Regions from separate parts of the Homo sapiens genome. Here regions 2, 3 and 4 are each linked to region 1. The links are contacts of gene promoters, found by promoter capture Hi-C in human tissues and cell types (Jung and others, 2019). All regions are on one chromosome and are shown on one strand. Each heading gives the region's core, a stretch centred on a gene start or on the middle of the fragment in contact. The rest is flanking DNA. Distances are from core to core; before and after follow the strand shown.

Evidence for each region. Contacts are between HindIII fragments. The study calls those that stand out against the background at their distance.
Region 2: a contact is called between the fragment with the promoter of ORAI2 here and the fragment with the promoter of MYL10 in region 1, in 2 of the 25 tissues and cell types used here (bladder and dorsolateral prefrontal cortex).
Region 3: a fragment that was not itself captured here is called in contact with the fragment with the promoter of MYL10 in region 1 in 2 of the 25 tissues and cell types used here (lymphoblastoid cells and spleen).
Region 4: a contact is called between a fragment that was not itself captured here and the fragment with the promoter of MYL10 in region 1, in 3 of the 25 tissues and cell types used here (IMR-90 fibroblasts, lymphoblastoid cells and spleen).

Annotation. Positions count from the first base shown.
Region 1 is chr7:101,627,248-101,630,881 of GRCh38, reverse strand. MYL10 (myosin light chain 10) reads left to right here and starts at 1,586. Exons shown (of 8, transcript NM_138403.5): 1 at 1,586-1,841. The coding sequence starts at 1,764. The HindIII fragment of the contact is 21,528 bases long and covers 211-3,634 here.
Region 2 is chr7:102,431,704-102,435,337 of GRCh38, reverse strand. It overlaps ORAI2 (ORAI calcium release-activated calcium modulator 2), which reads right to left and starts at 1,763. Exons shown (of 4, transcript NM_001126340.3): 1 at 1,677-1,763. RefSeq lists silencers at 1,354-2,133, 2,164-2,303. The HindIII fragment of the contact is 14,608 bases long and covers 1-3,634 here.
Region 3 is chr7:102,324,363-102,327,996 of GRCh38, reverse strand. LOC107986717 (a long non-coding RNA gene) reads left to right here. Exons shown (of 3, transcript XR_001744970.3): 2 at 22-104; 3 at 629-952. Among named protein-coding and RNA genes, the nearest start is that of SPDYE6, 30 kb to the left of the region's middle. The HindIII fragment of the contact is 5,177 bases long and covers 1-3,634 here.
Region 4 is chr7:102,142,558-102,146,191 of GRCh38, reverse strand. All of the region lies in intron 8 of CUX1 (cut like homeobox 1), which reads right to left. Among named protein-coding and RNA genes, the nearest start is that of SH2B2, 140 kb to the left of the region's middle. The HindIII fragment of the contact is 8,914 bases long and covers 1-3,634 here.

The DNA.
Region 1 (3,634 bases), core at 337-2,836:
AAATCCACTCAGACTAATTTGTAAGCCCGGTGTGATTCACCAGCGCCGCTTCCCCTCCTCCGGGCAGGCGGGGGGGCTCTCCGCTTGCTCAGGCCTGTCCCCGGCCTTTGGGAGCCCCTGCCACGGTCCTGGGCGTGCTCCCCGGAGGCAAGAGCCCTTGCTTGCAGAGGCCTCAGGGCAGCAGGAAGCCAGAGGCAGGAAGCAGGAGTTATAGGTCTGCTACCCACTCTGTAAGCCCAGAGCCAGGAGGCCCCAGGGCCAGGCTCACAGACCGGGCATGGAAAGCCTGCACCCTAGCCACTGTCGCGGTCACACAGGCCCCCTTCTGTAGCAGGTCCAGGCGGCTGGGACTGGAATCCAGGCTCCCGTCCCCAGAGCTGGGTTCTCCTTTCCGCCTGGCTTGTTGAACACCTGTGGAACGTGTGGTTTTTCTCCCCGGAGAGGAACGCCAGGACACCAGGAGAGCAGCCCTGTCGGGGAAACTGAGGCACACGGTTTCCTGCTGCAGAAAGCGGGCTGCACAGCATCATGGCTGGACCTGGCCCCAGCTCTGGGAGGAGCACTCAGTCACAGGAGTTTAGGGACATCAGAAATAGCTGTAGTCAGGGATGACTGGGAGGGAGCAGGAGGAGGGGAGAGTTTGGATGAGCAGAACCTTTTGGAAGCTTCCTTCTGGAAACACTAGAAAGAGGGGCTCTTGTCCTGGCCCTCCCTCTCTCTCTCTCTTTTTTTTTTTTTTTTTTTTTGTTTTAGAAATGAGACCTTGATCTGTTGTCCAGGCTGGAGTGCAGTGGTGCAATCACAGCTCATTGAAGCCTCAACCTCCTGGGCTCATGTGATCCTCCCACCTCAGCCTCCTAAGTAGCTGGGCCTGCAGGCATGTGCCACTGATACAGGAGGGGGGACAGGGAAGTGCTGAGAGGAGAAAGGCAGGGTCCCTGGCAAGGGCTCCACCCTTGGGCCTGTGCCCACGGACCTAGGTGAGGACAGGCACTCCTGTTTATATGCCCAAATGTCACATTTTCCAAGACCACCCTGGCCCACCACGCCCCCCGCCCCCCCGCCCATCCTGTGCCTATGAAAACCCTGAGACCCCAGTGGGTACACACACAGGTGGCTGGACATCAAGAGGAGCAGAGGATCGGAAGAGCACACCGACAGCACTGGCAGATGCTGGCAGGCCATCGACTGGCTGAATAACACAAATGCCCAGGGGAATTTGGCTGGGGATGGTCAGAGGAGAGTCTGGCTGCTGAGCACCTTGACTTCAGGGGAAAAATCACCTTCCCACTCCATCCCCCTTCTGGCTCCCCATCATCTGCTGAGAGCTACTTCCACCACTCAATAAAACCTCGCACTCATTCTCCAAGCCCACATGTGATTCAATTTTCACAGTACACCAAGGCAAGAACCCCAGGATACAAAAAGCCCTTTGTCCTTGCAATAAGGCAGAGGGTCTAACTGAGCTGATGAACACAAGCCACCTACAGATGGCAAAAGTAAAAGAGCATCCTGTAACACACGCCCACTGGGGCTTCAGGAGCTGTAAGCATCCACCCCTAGACACTGCCGTGGGGTCGGAGCCCCATAGCCTGCCTGTCTGCATGGTCCGCCTAGAGGTTTGAGCAGCTGGGCATGGAAGAAGCGAGCCACACCCCCATCGCATGCCCTATGAACGGGATAAGGGAACTTTTTCACTTCACCACTATGCCTGACTAATTTTTTAATTAAAAAAAATTTTTTTGTAGAAACAGAGTTTCACCATGTTGCTTAGGCTGGTCTCAAACTCCTGGCCTCAAGTGATCCTCCCTCCTCGGCCTCCCAAAGTGCTGGGATTACAGGTATGAGCCACTGTGCCTGGCCTCTGGCCCCACTTCTTATCTGCCTTGGGTGAGTGACTTAACCCATGCGTGCCTCAGTTTCCTCATCTGGAAAATGGGATATGGATTGAATGTGAGGACACGTGTTTTAAGACATGGCCTGACCTTCTGTGTTGTATATTAGCTGCTCTTCTTATTATTATTATGATATTCCCTTCCCCAAAGGCAGGGGATCAGCTGTACCCGGGGCTGAAGGCCTGAGGCCAGCTCCAGGGACAGTTAAGCTCTCCAGCCCCTGGGGACCCGTGGGCTCACTGCCTGAACCCAGCACTGCCGGCCCTGGCAGCTGTTCAGATATGGCGGGCCCCAGATGGACAGTGGCAGCCTCTGAGGCCGAGCTGGGGCTGCTGGGGCTGCACTAGACACAGGAGGGGCTTTCCAGGGCAGGTGTGGGCTCTGTTTGGCAGATCTACTAGAGAATTCTTGGGCTGGGCCAGGCCTGGTGGGGATGGATGTGTGTGTGTGAGGCCAGGGTGGAATGGAGGTCTCATTTTTCAGTTCTTCCTCATCAGAGTCACCTCCAGTTTTCTGTTTTCTTTTTTTTAAGAGACAATATCTCACTCTGTCGCCCAGGCTGGAGTGCAGTGGCACAATCATAGATCACTGCAGCCTCAAACTCCTGGACTCAAGCAATCCTCCTGCCTCAGCCTCCTGAGTAGGTGGGACTACAAGAGCACACCACCATGCTCGGCTAATTTTTTTGATATTTTGTAGAGATAGGGGTCTCACTATGTTGCCCAGGCTGGTCTTGAACTCCTGGCCTGAAGCGATCCTTCCCTCTTGGCCTCCGAAAGCTCTGGGATTACAGGCGTGAGCCACTGCGCCCACCCCATTTTTCTTTTATTTGTCCTGTTGCTTTCTCTGTTCATTGAGCATTTCAGTGCCCTGAGGGGGTCCCCTGGCCTGGGGGTGCTTAATGGACACCCTGATAATAGGCATATTGGTAGAAGGGGCCCCCGAGGGCCAGGTTGGTGCAGAAACTCTCTCCATAAGCAGACCGGGGGTTTCATACACTCCCCCCTATTCCTATGAGATGGCTGAGCCTCCTAGAGGGTGATGTCCCACCCAGAGTCCCACAGCTCCAGAGGTCCGGCCACACTGCAGTCTGAGTGGGTCCCAGCCAGCATGGGTGGCCCCACCCTGGGCAACACTCCCTGACGGCTCAAGGCCAAGTCTTCCCATTGGGGTAGGCAGCCTCAACTTACTCTGTGTCCTTGGCCAAATGCCCCTTCCTGGGTCTTGGTCCCTTGGCTCTAGAGAAAACAGTTGGCCCAGGGCTCTCGGAGATCCTGGAGGCTTAGGCAGTCCCTGCGTCCGTGGTATTTGCCCACGGATTCCCCCCAACCCTATCCACTCTGAATGGCCCAAGGCAGGTGCCTGGCAGGGAGGTCTCCGTCCTGTCATGGATCACCTTCCACACTGGGCCCGGTGCATGCCAGGGGCCCTGGGAGGACCACTATTTAAGGGCCATCTCTGAGCTATCCCCAGGCCAACTGCAGCTTCAGGGAGCTCTCCAGACCATGGTAGGCTGGGGTTGTTCTGCTCTGCCACGGCTACCTTCCTCTCACCTCCACCTCCTCCCTGGGGAGCTCAGGCCTGTGGCTGTTGTGTCTTTGGCTTCAGCACTGCGGTCCCCTCCCTCCCACCCCTGCCCCTGCCCCTGCCCCTGCCCCTGACCTCACTCCGCAATTCCTTTTCTTTTTTAGACAGAATCTCACTCTGTTGCCCAGGTTGGAGTGCGGTGGCTCGATCTC
Region 2 (3,634 bases), core at 514-3,013, 800 kb before region 1:
GCGGCCAGGAGCTGGAGACCAGCCTAGGCAACAGAGTAAGACGCTGTCTCTAAAAATAATTTTTTTTGACATGGGGTCCTGCTGTGTTACCAAGGCTGGAGTGCAGTGGCACAATCTCAGCTCCCTGCAAATTCTACCTCCCAGGCTCAAGCGATCCTCCCGCCTCAACCACCCGAGTAGCTGGGACTACATGTGTGTGCCACCATACCTGGCTAATTTTTGGTATTTTTGGTAGAGACAGGGTTTTGCTATGTTGGCCAGGCTGGTCTAGAACTCCTGAGCTCAAGTGATCCGCCCACCTTGGCCTCCCAAAGTGCTGAGATTATAGGCATGAACCACTGCGCCTGGCCTCTAAAAAGAATTTTAAAAAAGAGGGACCTTTCCTCAAAGACAAGATGCTGCCTGCATGGAAGGATTCCGAGAGACGGGAAGGCCACTCCAGGTGTACATGTGGGGTGGCTCTCCTTGTCCAGGAGATATGGAGGGAAGACTGGCTGCCACCTGGGGGGTGGAGGGGGCAGGGAGATGTGGGTGGAAGACACTTGGAGCCTGGGGCTGTGGAATGAGCCAGAGGGTCTGGGCAGCATGACTGGGCGTCCAGCCACAGGAGAATGGAAGAAATTGGTGAGTGGAACGGTCTGGGCACTGCTAGATCATTCTGGTTTGGGACCACAGTTCAACCCAGGGAAATGGCTGGCCGACTGGCAGGAGTGGGACGCAAGGGAGAGCCTGGTGGCCTCCAAAGGAAGGAAGGGTGAACAAGAGGGATGCCCCATCAGTAAGGGTGGGCTGGGCTCAGGTCTGAGAGTGGAGGTGAAGAGCTCAGGGCAGTGAGGGCTGAGGGTGGCTTCCTGGGAGCCGCCAGGCCTCCCATGCCCCATCGGTGAGGCCCTGCAGATGTCCCCAGAGTGGGTGGGATTGTGGAGGAAACGATGTCTGTCTGCCTGGAGCTGGGTCTTGAGACAGGTCTCCAGGTCTCGAAGGAGCAGCCCAGGAGGGGGTTCAAATCCATCCTTTATGTTCCCAATGCCAACTGTGTGTGCCAGGCCCGGTGGCCCAGGGGGAGGGACAGAGTCTGGGCCTCACACTGGATCCCAGGCAGGGGGTGGGGTGGGGCAGGATGGAGCCCTGTACTTCTGTCAGGTGGCACAGACCCTAGAGGATGCTCCGGGACTGAACCTTGTGGGGTTGCTTTTTTTTTTTTTTTTTTTTTTTTGCTTTAATGAGCAGTCCGAGAAAACAGGTCTTGTAGAATAACGCGATCCCCTCTCTAGAGATGAGCTTTTCTTCCTGGCTGGCCTACTGGACACATTTCCAGAGGGCGGTCTTGGAGTTTGACTTCCTCTAAGCATCTGGGGCACCGGCAATGGCGAGTGTCTCTCTCCAGCAGGCGCACTGGGAGGGGGCCTCCCAGGGGCGCTAGGCTGCATCCCTGTCCCTCCCCCAGGGACGCCCCGGTGTCCGGAACCGGCTGCGCCGCCGACCCTGATCCTCTGGGCGCCGCACCCCGCCAGGGATCCCGCGGGGTGGAGGTCACCAACCCCGGATGGGTAGTGACCGCGCCCGGGCAGCCTACAGTCGTCCCCTTCCCCGCCGAGCGTCCCCGGTCCAATTCCGGCCCCCCCAGCCGCAGGGACCCCGCTCCCCGCGCCAGGCCCCCGCGCCGCCACACTCACCGGAGCTGCCCTCGCCCCGCCCGGCTCGGCTCCCGCTCGGACTGCGTGGCCGCGTGGCCTGTGGCCCAGTGGCCCGGCCGGGGCGCCGAGCGCGGCCCCCTCCCTCCTTCCGCCGGTCGCGCGGGGTCCCCCGGCCCCGCCTCCACCCCGCCCCCGCGGCCGCCGCAGCCGCTGCCAAGGCAACCAGGCGCCGCCAACACGTGACCCACCCGCGGGAGAGCCGCGGCCACGTCACCCGCCGGGCCGGGAGGGGCGGGGCTGGCGGCGCCTCCTCGGAGAGTGGGGGGGTGGGGGTCCCCGCCTCACCTGGAACCACCCCGGGATCGCGCGAGGGAGAGGAGCAGGGGAGGTGGGAAGACCCCGACCCGCGCGCATCCCTCCTGCCCCAGCTCCTGTCCCCGGCCCCAGCTCTGGGAGTCAAGGCGAGGCCCCCCACCGCCCCATCGGGGGTCCGGCTACCCACAGACCACGAGCTGGGCTTTCCCTGCCCCTGGGTCCGGGCGCAAAAGGGGAGCCCCAGGCTTGGCAGGGTGAGCCTCGGGGGGTGCCCAGCATTGGACGCTGGCTGCGTAGAGGGGCGGGGAGTGGGGACAGGGCGGGCGGGTGCAGGTGGGCAGTGGAGGGGAAAGGAAGGTGGGGAGGGGAGAATCCGTCTGGCCACGCCCGAGTTTTCACAGGATTTTTTTTTTTATTTTTTTGAGACAGGGTCTGGCTCTGTCGCCCAGGCTGGACTGCAGTGGTGCGATCACGGTTCAATGCAGCCTCGAATTCCTGAGCTCGAGTGATCCTCTGCCCTCAGTCACCCAAAGTGCTGAGGCTACATGTAGGCAGGAGCCACCACACCGTGGTAGTTTTTAAAAAATTTGTTTTTGTTTGTTTTTTGAGAGGGAGTTTTGCCCTGTCACCCAGGCTGGAGTGCAGTGGTGCCATCTTGGCTCACTGCAACCCCCGACCCCGGGGTTGAAACGATTCTCCTGTCTCAGCCTCCGAGCTACAGGTGCACGCCACTAGCCTGGCTACTTTTTTGTATGTTTAGTAGAGATGGGGTTTCACCATGTTGGCCGGACTGGTCTTGAACTCCTGACCTCAGGTGATCCTGCCTGCCTCGGCCTCCCAAAGTGCTGGGATGATACATGTGAGCCACTGTGCCCAGCCAAAAAAAAAAAAAAAAATTCTTTTTTTAGAGATAGAGTCTTCCTGTATTGCCCAGACTGGTCTTAAACTCCTGGCCTCAAGCAATCCTCTCTTAGCCTCTCAAAGCACTGGGATTACAGGCATGTGCCACAATGTCCAGCTAATTTTTAAATTTTTTAAAAAAATTGAGATGGGTCTTGCTATGTTGCCTCTGCTGGTCTCGAACTCCTGGGCTCAAGTGATCCTCCCACCTCAGCCTCCCAAAGTGCTGGGCATAGAGGCATGGGCCACCTTGCTTGGCCCCTGCCCAGGGTGTTGGATGGCACCATGAAGAGCTTGCACTGAGCTAATTGGGGGTTGCCACCCAGAGTGCACTGCCACTCACAGACCCAGCGAGACCCCTGGGGTCCCAACTTCAGTGCAGCGTGCTGTCCTTCTCATGCTGTTCGCAGACAGCAGCAAAGAGTTTCTGCTGTGCCCTGGCCCCTTCCACTCCCTACTGCAGGGAGCCTCTCACCTTTAACGGTGAATTCTCTGCGGTTTTACGAGCGAGGCAGTCAAACAGGAGCATTCTTTTCAGGAAGTGCAGCACATGAATAATTCACAGACAGACAAGATGGGTTCCTATCAGCCCGGCGGTGCCAGACGGTCCCTTGGAGTCCTTCCTCCATGCCGGGTAGGCTGCTGCGTGCCCTACATAGGATTTTTCCATCTGTCACAACAGCATTGGACCGTGACACATTTATCCAAACGAAGGAAAAATTCCACTCATGTCAGCCAGCCCACATTTTATGACAATTGGAAGAGTAGATGTTACGGACGCC
Region 3 (3,634 bases), core at 796-3,295, 700 kb before region 1:
GGAATACTGACTCTTTATTAGCTGATGAAGGCAGTGACTTTGAAGATAGCTTCAATCGCAATGTGAAGAAGAAAGCAGCAAAACGACCACCGAAAACAACACCGGTGAGTCAGCCAGTTTTCTTTTGTTTTTGAATCTTGTGGGGGAAGCAGCCCAGCTACTCGGGAGGCTGAGGCAGGAGAATGGCGTGAACCCCAGGGGCAGAGCTGGCAGTGAGCCGAGATTGCGCCACTGCACTCCAGCCTGGGTGACAGAGCGAGACTCTGCCTCAAAAAAAAAAAAAAAGAAAAAAACTTAAAAGAGGTTCAGGTGATATGGTTCAAAAAAGGACAAGATTTACAAAGTATTAAGGGACGGAAATAGGAAGAGGAGAAATTTTGAAGAGAAAAGAAGAGAAAAGGACGTTAGGATATAGAGATATAGGAAGGGGACTCAAGGACTTTTTTTTTTTAAGGGAAAAAAGTTAAACTTCATAACAGTATAAAAATCAATTATTTCAGGACTGAGTCTAACTCAGACTGTGCTGTGGAATGGGCAGCGTAAGCCTACTTGTGTGATAATGATGAGACCAAGTGTTAATGTCACTGTTACCTTTTTTTCATATTTCTGATCTTTTTATACATATTAGGTGGCAAACAACGAAAGAAAGGGTCCCGAGTGGTACATCGTCATAGCCGGAAACAGTCAGAGCCACCAGCCAATGATCTTTTCAATGCTGTGAAAGCTGCCAAAAGTGACATGCAGGTAAAGCCGTGTCTCACCTCTGTTGATACCATCTCACTTTTTGTAAGGTGGTAAGGACAAGTGTCTACAAACTTGATTTGATGTGAACATTTCAGTGAATGTAACATATCAAGAAAGATAAGATTATGGGGTGAATCCTTGGAGTAATAGAAGGGTAACCTTGAATGAGAGAGCATTTTTTTTTTTTTTGAGACAGAGTGGTGCAACTGACCTCCCAGGCTCCGGTGATACTCCCACCTCAGACTCCCAGGTGGCTGGGACTACAGGTGCATGCCATCGTGCCTGGCTAATTTTTTTGGTATTTTTTTGCAGAGAAGACAAGGTTGTGCCATGTTGCCCAGGCTGGTCTCGACCTCCTGGGCTCAAACAATCCTCCCGCCTCAGCCTCCCAAAGTGCTGGGATTATAGGTGTGAGCCACCGTGCCCGGCTGTTTTCTGTATTTTTTGCAGAGTAGGGTGTGTCTCGTTCTGTTGCCCAGGCTGTTCTTGAACTCCTGGCCTCAAGCGATCCTCCTACCTCAGTCTTCCGAAGTGCTGGCTTACAGATGTGAGCCATTGAGCTTATTCAAATAAGGGATCTTTTCACAGCGCGTCTAGTTTGTTACAGAACCCCAAAGTATCATTCATGCTCATCATTGACTGAAATTACAGTAGTTATGAGGGCTGCTATTAAAGCTTGCTATTTAAAGTGTTAATAAAGAAGCATGTATATTACCACATCACCAGTTTAAAAAATATTTTGATTACTTTTTAATTGTATTTAGTATTTTGACTGAATTTCAGGGTAATTGGTTTTCCTTGCAAGTCTATGTATTTAATTCTGTGCACTTTAAACATTATGCTAAGCAGGCTATAATAGTCTTCCCCAGACTGTCAGGGGCCTGAGGCACAAAAGAGATTAGAAATCCCTGGCTTAGGGCCTTTTAGGGGGAAGGGTGGGCACTGCAGAAAACTTTCTACCTAGCCAAATGCATGTTTTGGCCAAATACATGTTTTTTTCTTATTAAAGGATTTTGAGGCCGGGTGCGGTGGCTCATGCCTGTAACTGCAGCTTTTTGGGAGGCCGAGGTGGGTGGATCACCTGAGGTCAGGAGTTCAAGACCAGTCTGGCCAACATGGCGAAACCCAGTCTCTACTAAAAATACAAAAGTTAGCTGGGCGTGGTAGTGGGCACCTGTAGTCCCAGCTACTCGGGAGGCTGAGGCATGAGAATTGCTTGAACCCGGGAGGCAGAGGTTGCAGTGAGCCAAGATCCCACCACTACACTCCAGCCTGAGTGACAGAGCAAGACTCTGTCTCAGAAAAAAAAAAAAAAAAAAAGGCTTTTGGACCGAGGCAGGAGGATCACTTGAGGATAGGAGTTCAAGGCCAGCCTGAGAAACATAGTGAGACTCCTGGTCTCTACAATAAAATTAAAAATTAGCAGGGTGTGGTGACACCCACCTGTAGTCCCAGCTACTTGGGAGGCTGAGGTGGGAGGATCATTTGAGCCCAGGAGATTGAGGCTGCAGTGACCTGTGATTGCCCCACTGCACTCCAGCCTGGGCAACAGATCAAGATGCTCTTTAAAATAAATAAGAAATAAATATAGGATTTGGGGACAATGAATGAGATTCATTACTCAACATTCACATTAGTGTATCGCTTTGCTTTTTTTTTTTCTTTTTGAGACAGGGTCTCACTCTGTTGCCCAGGCTGGAGTGCAGTGGAGCAATCTTGGCTCACTGCAACCTCCACCTCCCCAGTTCAAGTGATTCTCCTGCCTCAGCCTCCTGAGTAGGTGGAATTACAGGTGCCGCCACCACGCTGGGCTAATTTTTGTATTTTTAGTGGAGATGGCGTTTTACCATATTGGCCAGGCTGGTCTCGAACTCCTGACCTCAAGTGATCTGCCTGCCTCGGCCTCCCAAAGTGTTGAGATTACAGGCATGAGTCACCGCGCCTGGCTGCTTTGCTGTCTCTTAATACTAGGGATGTAAGAGCCCCTCGCCATCGCAGGAAGTTTATTTCTTCTACCCCAAATGGGCTAGAACTTTTCTAAGTTAGAAGTGCCCAATAGGGTCTAAGGTGATCTCAGGGAGGACAAAAAACCCTTCCCCGGAGCAGGAAGGCAGAAGCTCGATTGATGTTGATTTTCAGTAGGAAGACAGACCATGAAAGCACGGTCACACCATGCCCCCTAAAAAAAAAAAAAGAAAAATATAACAGAAACGCCCACCAGAAGGAACTGATTTTTATTGTACTGTATTTGATTTTGTTTTGTACGCCAGTTCTATTTATTTATTTATGTATTTATTTAGAGACAAGTCTCTCTTTGTGTCCCAGGCTAGAGTGCAGTGGCATGATCTCGGCTCACTGCAACCTCCACCTCCTGGGTTCAAGCCATTCTCTTGCCTCAGCCTTCCGGGTAGCTGGGATTACAGGCACGTGCCACCACACTCGGCTAATTTTTGTATTTTCAATAGAGACGGGGTTTCGCCATGTTGGCCAGACTGGTCTTGAACTCCTGACTTCAAGTGATCCACCCGCCTTGGCCTCCCAAAGTGTTGGGATTACAGGCGTGAGCCACCACACCCGGTTGTGATCTTTCTTCCGTCACTGTCCTCCTGCTCTGCTGCCCTGCCCTGGCCCCTTGCCCCTCACCCAGACCCACCACAGCCTCCCTGGCCCCCCGCCTCATTTTGCCGCCTTCAATCCATCCTTGCCCCAACCCTCTGGCCACAGGGTGATCTCAGCTCCCATTTTAATTGGCACTGGCTCTCAGCACCTTCCAAACTCCCTGGCCTGGCATTCAAGGCTCTCTCTACCTTGCAGGTCTCATATCCCACCTCGCTGCTCCTGCGCCTGCAGTCCCCCATGTCTGCGACACCCAGTGTCACAGGTCAGCCAG
Region 4 (3,634 bases), core at 785-3,284, 510 kb before region 1:
TGCCTCCAGGGATGAGCATCTGGGTTCATCGGCGGCTGCTTCCTGCATCTCTCTAGAGTTCTAACAGCCCTGCTCTACCCAAAGAAGTGGAGAGCAGGCTGGGTGTGCAGGTTCCTTTGTTCTTTAAAATCAAGTGAAATTAGGAAAATTGTGGTCTACAGAAAAGAGTGTGGCTGGTGGAAAATGGGTTGGAATTCTTCTCCACTGCATTTTTATTTTGTAAAAATTTTTATTTATTTATTTTTGAGATGGAGTCTTGCTCTACTGCCCAGGCTGGAGTGCAATGGCACGATCTCGACTCACCGCAACCTCTGCCTCCCAGGTTCAAGCAATTCTCCTCCCTCAGTCTCATGAGTAGCTGGGATTACAGGAGCCTGCCACCATGCCCAGCTAATTTTTGTATTTTTAGTAGAGGCAGGGTTTCACCATGTTGGTCAGGCTGGTCTTGAACTCCTGACCTCAGATGATCCACCCACCTCGGCCTCCCAAAGTGTTGGGATTACAGGCGTGAGCCACCGCGCCCGGCCCTCCCATTGTCTTTTAGTTGTTTGACCTTGGACAGACTTCTGAGCTGGACAGTCACCTATACAGGAGGAGCCATGAAATTCAAAGAAATTAGCATGAGGATAAAACAAGAACACAAAAAGAAAGGAAAAGATTTTGTAAACCACCAAGCTCCATGCCTGGATTCATTATGATTGTGTATCAAAGTCAGGACCTTTCTCTTCTGGTGAGCGCTCACTTCCAGTACCTGACACCATCGCGAGATCATCACAATCACCCACAAAGGGGCTTTTGGCCAAAAACTTCTAGCCTGAATCTGATCAAGCCTCTAGATTCAACCACAAATTTTCAGGAAAGCATGAGGACAGAGGAGCATGATAAACTATTTCTGGGGAGGCAATCAGTAAAATCTCAGCAGTGGGGTGGAGAATCTTTTCTGGACAAATGACCCCATTTCTAGCACAAATACATTGCAAGGAAAAGAAAAAGTGACGAAGAGGGAATCTATACAATGACCAAGACTTAAAGATACACCAGCCAACTGCAACGTGTGGATCTTACTTGAATCGAGATTCAAATTTTTTTTTTTTTTTTTTTTTTTAAGACGGAGTCTTGCTCTGTCGCCCAGGTTGGAGTGCAGTGGTGCGATCTCGGCTCACTGCAACCTCCGCCTCTCCGTTCAGGTGATTCCACTGCCTCAGCCTCCTGAGTAGCTGGGACTACAGGTGTGTGCCACCACACCCAGCTAATTTTTGTGTTTTTAGTAGAGACGAGGTTTTGCCATGTTAGCCAGGCTGTTTTCAAGCTCCTGACCTCAAGTTATCCACCCACCTCGGCCTCCCAAAGTGCTGGGATTACAGACGTGAGCCATTGCGCCCAGCCTAAATTAAAATAATTTTAGAAAATAAAACCATTATGAAGTTTGGGGGCAACTAGAAATTTCAAAACTGGCTAGATTTACCTGATCATATTAAAAAATTATTATGATTATTATTTTTACTGTTTTTTTTTTTTTTTGAGACAGGGTCTTGCTTTGTCACCCAGGCTGGAGCGTAGTGGTGTGATCATAGCTCACTGCAGCCTCAACCTCCCGGGCTCAAGCAATCCTCCCACCTCAGCCTCCTGAGTTGCTGGGACTGCAGGTGAAAAATTATTTTTGAATGTGCTAATTGCGCTGTGACTATATTAAAAAGAAAGTCCTTATTGTGAGGATATGTGTGTTAAAATGTTTAGAAAGGAAATGAAAGGATTCTGGGAGTAGCTTCAAGTCAAAACAGGAGTGGGGACAGGTGAGACGGGATGGGCCATGAACGGGAGATGCTGACACCAGGTCACGCGTACGTCGGAAATTTAACATATGAAACATAAACAAAAAACCCAATAAGACAACAAAAAAAGTGAAGAGCATCACAGTAGTCAGGTATCCCTCCATCGTCACTCATTAATTGTAAAGCGTGCACTGATGCTGACTGCTACTATTCCATTTGCAATGAAACAAGGTGATAAGCAAGACATAAAAATACTCAAGAAGAAGGAGAATCTAAAGGACGCTGCATGGCTGTGGCTGCAGCTGTGGAAAAGAATATGGATTAGAAGTGGCCGTCCTGGCTGGGCGCAGTGGCTCACGCCTGTAATCCCAGCACTTTGGGAGGCTGAGGTGGGTGGATTGCCTGAGGTCAGGAGTTCGAGACCAGCCTGGCCAACATGGTAAAGGCTCGTCTCTACTAAAAATACAAAATTGGCCGGGTGGGGTGGTGCATGCCTGTAATTCCAGCTACTCGGGAGGCTGAGACAGGAGGATGGCTTGAACCCAGGAGGTGGAGGCTACAGTGAGCTGAGATCGCACCACGGCACTCCAGTCTTGGTGAGACAGATTGAGACTCCGTCTCAAACAAAACAAAACAAAAAAACAAAAGAAGAAGTGGCCGTCCTGTGCGGTCCACCTGATGCCAGACTCTGCTAACTTTAGTCAAGACAGTTACCTTCCCGGAATCCCGTTTACCCACTTGCCAAGGGGAAAAAAATGTATACAAAGAGCACATCTCTATAAGAAGAATGTGACTTTAAAAAATAATATACCATATATATGTTTTTCTTTGACACAGAAAATGATTGGGCCAGGCGCAGTGACTCACACCTGTAATCCCAGCACTTTGGGAGGCCAAGGTGGGAGGATCGCTTGAGCCCAGGAATTCGAGACCAGCCTGGGCAACATGGTGAAGCTCCGTCTCTACAAAACATTAATACAAAAATTAGCTGGGTATGGTGGTATGCACTTGTGGTCCCAGCTACTTTGGAGACTGATGTGGGTGGATCGTTTGAGCCCAGGAGTTGGAGGCTGCAGTGAGCTATGATCGCGCCTCTGTGCTCCAGCTTGGGTGACAGAGCAAGACTCTGTCTCATAAAAAAGAAAAAGATTGTTAGCCAAGAACAGAGAATGGGAAGAAAATGAATTCTGGAAGGGAACCCCCCAAGTACCATCTGACCCAGGAAGGGAACTGTCATGGTGAGAGGCCTACACTTAGGTGATGGAGGAAACTGAGGCACAAGTTCCTGCTGTTGACATCGTGGGCCGGCAGCCTGCCATCCATTGAGCCCCCTGGCCATGGGACAGTTACAAAGACGCAGGCAACATGGCTCCTGCACTCCGGGGACTTGCCCCAACTGTGCCAGGAATCACGGGTAGACAACAACCTGGCAGGAAATGGGGACCGGTTGTTACTTCTTTACTTTCAGATTTGTTTTTATTATTATTATTATTTTTTAATAGATGGGTCTTGCTCTGTTGCCCAGGCTGGAGTGCAGTGGTTTGACCATGGCTCACTGCAGCCTTGAACTCATGGGCTCAAGAGATCCTCCTGCCTCGGCCTCCCAAGTAGCTGGGACTACAAGTGTGCATCACCTCTCCCGGCTAATTTTTAAATTTTTTGCAGAAACAAGGTCTCACTATGTTGGCCAGGCTGGTCTTGAACTCCTGTCTTCAAGTGATCCTCCTGTCTCGATCCCCTGAATACCTGGGACTACAGGTGTGCACCATTACACATGGCTAATTTATTTTTTGTAGAGACAGGGTCTTGCTCTGTTGCCCAGGCTGGAGTGCAGTGGTACTATCATGGCTCACTGCAGCCTC